Linked DNA regions of Homo sapiens: region 2 is linked to region 1. Evidence: promoter capture Hi-C in human tissues and cell types (Jung and others, 2019). All regions are on one chromosome and are shown on one strand. Each heading gives the region's core, a stretch centred on a gene start or on the middle of the fragment in contact. The rest is flanking DNA. Distances are from core to core; before and after follow the strand shown.

Region 1 (2,709 bases), core at 199-2,698:
GAACCATTATGAGACTGCTAAATCAAAACTAGGTTTTAGAATATTGAAAACTTTCATGATTAATGTACTAGATATTAACGCGGGAGAGGGGGCAGGGGGAAGCCTGTGTTGGTCCTCTCCAGAAAGTTGCACAGCCAGTAGCACCCTTCAGTAGGCTTCAGGCATTCCCTGTGGGGCCTTGCTAGCTGGCACCCAGCCGTATGCTGCTAAAACAAACCTGAGCACCAGTGATTCACACTGTTCCTGAAAGCAAGTTACTTGGTGGAACCTATCCCTCTTTAACAAATGAACAGTCCTGTCTCTTTCCAGGACCAGAGTCCTGCAGCAATTAAGCATGCAACACTTGGGAAGCTATCTGACGGAGACTACCAGTTGCTCCAAAAAATTTTAAACTCCTTAGACATTATAGGCCCTGATAGCACTCTCTTTTTCATTTACTCTTTTCATTTAATGCTTTCACAAATATTCCTAGGACACTCACAGGTGAAGTTTGGCACTGAGCAGGTAAGGCTGAAAGAGTCTTGCTCCTGTTACTCTCCATTGCCAAATTCTCTATTGCGGCTAACTTCTGCACACCACAGCTGCCCAATAAAATCTGTCAGGCACGCAAGCCCACCTCAAATTGCTGCTCCTTTGTGAAGCTTTACCTCTGTTCGCCACCGGTAACTCTTACCTGGCCTTTGTGTGGCCTCCCTTTCAATGTAGAATTCTCGTGTTAGTCTTATGTGCCAGCCTCCTACCCCTCTATCCTGCTAACTTGACTCAACTTGTAGGACAGCGCAGGTGCCATTTACAGGGGGACTTCCTTGACCTCCTGAGCCCTATTCTATACAACCAGAGCTTAGGAAAAAAAAACAGTCCAGCACTCAGAGGAATGGATGTTAACAGCCTGAGCAGCTCCCACCCCCTCCCACACAAGAACAGCTCCAAACATCATTCCTCCTTGGACTTTCCTCCTCCCTGGGCCTACCTCAAATGTACACATGTGAAACATTCACTAAACCCGAAGATGTCTGCACACGACAGCTCTATTCATACTCCTCACCCAACAAATTCCACTCTCCTCAAGAAAGCCTAGGGGTTTGTGGGAGGTGGGTCTGGCGGCAGAAGGAAAGCGAGGTCACGGAGACCACATCCCTGAATGATGCCTGGCTCGACTCAAACGCAACACGCGTGAATGCTAGGGCAGGCTGCTCCTGCGCGGCCCTCCTCCACGGAATGCCAGGGAGGGAGCGCAAAGCCACCAGCGCGGCGGAGCTGGTGCGCCTCCGGCCCGCCTCTCCGGTAACGGGTCGCGCCGCACTGAGTCCTTGCAGCAAACCTGCCGAATCCCGCCCGTGGACCTCTAAACACCGGGCGGGGCCGGGTGTGGCGGCGCGCTCGGACGTTCGTCATTCCTCCGCGCCCTCCGCCTGCCAGCTGATTGGCCCCTGGGCCAGGGGCGGGGCACTCGCGGCGGAGGCAAGCGGCGGCGCGCGGACGGTTGGTCCAGTTCTCCGGCCTGGCGGCAGGCAAGTCTAGCTCGGCGCTGTCGGATACTTGGGGTGAGCGGAAAGCATGGCGGGGACCTCCGCGCCAGGCAGCAAGAGGCGGAGCGAGCCCCCGGCGCCTCGCCCCGGCCCGCCGCCGGGCACCGGGCACCCCCCGAGCAAGCGGGCCCGGGGCTTCTCCGCAGCCGCTGCCCCGGACCCTGACGACCCGTTCGGCGCGCATGGGGACTTCACTGCCGACGACCTGGAGGAGCTTGACACCCTCGCGTCACAGGCCCTGAGCCAATGTCCGGCCGCGGCTCGGGACGTGTCCAGTGAGTGCTCCTCGCGGCCTTTTGCTCGGAGGGAGTTGTCAACCGCGCCAGATCCCCTTGATGGCTGTGGCTTCGGAACCTCGCGGCCAGCACTGCCTTTTCGCCTTTTTAAAATATGGGAACACCCTGATTTAAGCAGCGGTTGTCTTCCAGAAGGTCCTTTGATTTTAGGGGGAAATGCATTAGCCAGGTCAAACAGCCGATTTGAAACACAGAAGGCTAAGTTGACATTTTACGTTATTTTCTAAAGTTTAGGCCACTTGGTTCTTGGTTCTAAGCAGAGATCCTTGGAACACACCTACCACCACCATCAGAACCATCACTACCCATGCATGGGGACCCATTCTTGTGACAAGTTTGAGCGGCTTTAGATCTTATGAAGCCCACTGTCTCCCTTGGGCAGTGTGAGCATGGGAGGAGCCAGACACAGGCAAGAGATGAAATAAATTTATTCTTTTATACAACCAGTAAACTGTGCTAGGTGCCCAAACGTGAGGAACTGCAGCTGACCTTACAATGAACAAAATACAAAAACTGTCCTTCATGGAGCTTACATTCTAGTTGAGGAGTGAGTGAAGTCTTGAGGACTCCCAGAAAGAGAAATGTTTTGAGTGCACCTTGCATCTGTACTTGGGTGTCTCAAGGCACCTTAAACTCAACACGATCATTTCCTGGAAACCCAGTCCTCCTCCAGCACTTCTAGCATGGTGCCGGCAAAGCAGACATTCAGAGAATGATGACCAGATGTTCCACAAGGAAGTAACTAGCACGACTCTCCATCCAGTGGCACAAAGCGACTCTTCCCCTTTCCTTGACTCTACATCTAATTTATTTGGAAAGCATGTCAAGCTTACCTTCTTAATCCTTCTCTGGAGTCTATCCTATTCACATTGCTTCTACCAGCT
Region 2 (2,766 bases), core at 141-2,640, 77 kb after region 1:
GGCTTCACAGCCATTCCCCCAAGAGCACCTGTGTTAAAGGTGAAGAGCTAAGACCTGAGAGATGAAGAAGTTGCCTGAAGTCTCTGCTGGTATAGCAAGAGGCAGGGTGGGGACTCACACTGCCCTGCACCCAGAATAAAGTCCAGGCCCTGAGGACCAAGGGGCCTTGTGGGGGTTCAGAAAAATCAGTAGAAAAGCCCCTCATGCAGGTAGGCAATGGTTAAGCAAAGTCACTGGGGAGGTCTTCTGTGGCCACATAAACTTTTTCACAACAAACTTTTTTTTTTTTTTTGAGACAGGGTCTCGCTCTGTCGCCCAGGCTGGAGTGCAGTGGTGCGATCTCGGCTCACTGCAAGTTCCGCCTCCCGGGTTCATGCCATTCTCCTGCCTCAGCCTCCCAAGTAGCTGGGACTACAGGTGCCCGCCACTACGCCCAGCTAATTTTTTTGTATTTTTAGTAGAGATGGGGTTTCACCATGTTAGCCAGGAGGGTCTCTATCTCTTGACCTCGTGATCCACCCACCTCGGCCTCCCAAAGTGCTGGGATTACAGGCATGAGCCACCGCACCCAGCCCCAGAACAAACTTTTTAAAAGCAAATTAGGGCCGCAGATGGTAGCTCATGATGGTAGCTCACGCCTGTAATCCCAGCACTTTGGGAGGCCGAGGCAGGTAGATCACCTAAGGTCAGGAGTTCGAGACCAGCCTGACAACATGGTGACACTCTGTCTCTACTAAAAATACAAAAATTAGCTGGGCATGGTGGCAGGCGCCTGTAATCCTAGCTACTCGGGAGGCAGAGGCAAGAGAATCATCTGAACCCGGGAGGTGGAGGTTGTAGTGAGCCTAGATCACGCCATTGCACTCCAGCCTGGGTGACAAAGCGAGACTCCGTCTCAAAGAAAAAAAGCAAATTGGGAAAGGTGGTGGGGTAGTAGGTGGAGGAATGGGCTCCTAACACAATTTTCAAGGAATTCGGAGAAAATCATGGAACTGTGCAGAGATCCAAGGTCATGGCTACCCATGGTCAATGTGCAGGAAGCTTCCTTACCATATGCCACAGGAGTCAGCTTCAGGACTGTGTGCAGCGGACACTTGAGGTAGGGCAGCTGTTCTGTAGACACAGAGGGGGATGGCTAGCACACCAGAAATGCCTGGTGACAGTGCCTACCTTCTCACACAACCTTCCCACCTCCCCCGGGGCACAGCCCACACCTGCTGCCTTGTCGAGGAAGTAGGCCAGCAGGCAGCGCATCACAGCCTGGTGGCAGATGACCAGCACATTCTCTTGCCTCTCCAGCTCCATGATGACAGGCTCCAGTCTCTGGACCAGGTCCTCGTAGGACTGCAAGGGCAAGCAGAGAGGGGTCCCTCAGGCCTGGCTCCGGGGGAGGGACAGACACATCCTGGACACTGGGCCACCTTCCACTCCTGCAGCTACTCACCATTCTGGGAAGCTGTGGCTGGGCCTCCTCCAGCCTAGCCTTCTGAGGCCATGGGGGTGGGCAGCTGAGGAAAGGGGCCACCTTTCCCACCTCAGGGCTAGGTCCTGGTAGGATTGAGAGCGCAGAGCTAGGCCTCAGGCTCCATCCCAGGGTCCACCTCAGTGCCCACCCATGGGGCTCTGCACTGAATCCTCAGCTATAGAATTCATGTGACTGGTGGAGAAGACCTCGCCTGCTTCCAGCCCACAGCAAACAGAGTGCACTGACAAGAGCGAAGGGGAAGAGAGCAAAGACCTGGAACTTTCTGGAGTGTGACTCATCAGAAACAGCTGGGGTCCCCAGGAACTATCCTCAGTCTACCTGCCCAGTATCTTCCCCCTATGCCTGCCGTGATGTACGGTTTAGGCCCCTGCTGGGCCTCTCAACCTGGCAGGTTTAGAGATTTTCATCAGTTTCATCCTTCTGCACACAATGAGTGGTCCTTCAAAAATGGCCTCCAGCAGTCAGAACTGAACGTGCCCCAAGCTTTGATTAGGAAGCAAAAATGACACGCTGATTTGTGCCAGTTCCTGGTAGTTCTGAGAAAATCCTAGACCGGTTCTTTTGGTAACATGAATTTCTCAACCAATTCTCCTCACTGTATTCTCATGTTTGAGCAGCCAGCTGCTTTGTTTCTCCTGACCGTTATCTGGGTTGGTTCTAAATCTGAACTTGGCCTAACATAATGTGGGGAATAATTAATGTTCCCAAGAGCTATACTATCCTGAGGATGGTACAGTGTAGAGACCTGTCAGCCTGGCTTCTGGGTGGAGGTGCTTCTACATGTGTATATATATGTGTACATATGTGTGTTGACGGGGTGTATTTTTATTTGGCCCCTGCCCCAGGCCACCTCCTGGAAGTGGAAGGAGATGCCTCAGTCAAAGGTGACCCTCAGTTTCTGACCTGGGGCCTGGGCTGAACTGTGTCAGAGAAGGTGACAAGTGCAGTGGCTTGTGGTAGCCAACTCATGTGTGGAAGGTCTCCCTGGGTCTGGTGCCAGGGCTGGGGGTGGTGCCTGGAGCCACAGGAAGGACAGGATGGGCTCAGCCTGTGACAAGAGGAAGCATCCAAAGGAAGGATGAGGCCCGAGACAGGGACTCGAGTGAGCTGAGACCCGAGTCCCAGGCCTGCCATGGTCTCCCCAACTCCCCAGCCATTTGAGCGCCCCGGAAAGGGCTGACAACTCGCTGGGAAAGGAGCTGGCCTGGGAATGCCAGGGGACCGCACACTGTCTACAGGGGTCCCAGGAAAGCCTAACTCCGCAGATCCCCCACCTCAGG

What was found. The method cuts DNA at HindIII sites, captures the fragments that hold promoters and counts their contacts. A contact is called where the count stands out against the background at its distance.
Region 2: a fragment that was not itself captured here is called in contact with the fragment with the promoter of ATRIP in region 1 in 4 of the 25 tissues and cell types used here (IMR-90 fibroblasts, lymphoblastoid cells, mesenchymal stem cells and 1 more).

What each region holds. Positions count from the first base shown.
Region 1 is chr3:48,445,289-48,447,997 of GRCh38, forward strand. ATRIP (ATR interacting protein) reads left to right here and starts at 1,449. Exons shown (of 13, transcript NM_130384.3): 1 at 1,449-1,804. The coding sequence starts at 1,558. ATRIP-TREX1 (ATRIP-TREX1 readthrough) reads left to right here and starts at 1,491. Exons shown (of 15, transcript NR_153405.1): 1 at 1,491-1,804. It also overlaps a transcript of CCDC51 not described here. RefSeq lists a silencer at 1,394-1,753. The HindIII fragment of the contact is 4,147 bases long and covers 1-1,647 here.
Region 2 is chr3:48,522,487-48,525,252 of GRCh38, forward strand. PFKFB4 (6-phosphofructo-2-kinase/fructose-2,6-biphosphatase 4) reads right to left here. Exons shown (of 14, transcript NM_004567.4): 11 at 1,215-1,344; 12 at 1,051-1,113. Among named protein-coding and RNA genes, the nearest start is that of SHISA5, 20 kb to the left of the region's middle. The HindIII fragment of the contact is 4,280 bases long and covers 1-2,766 here.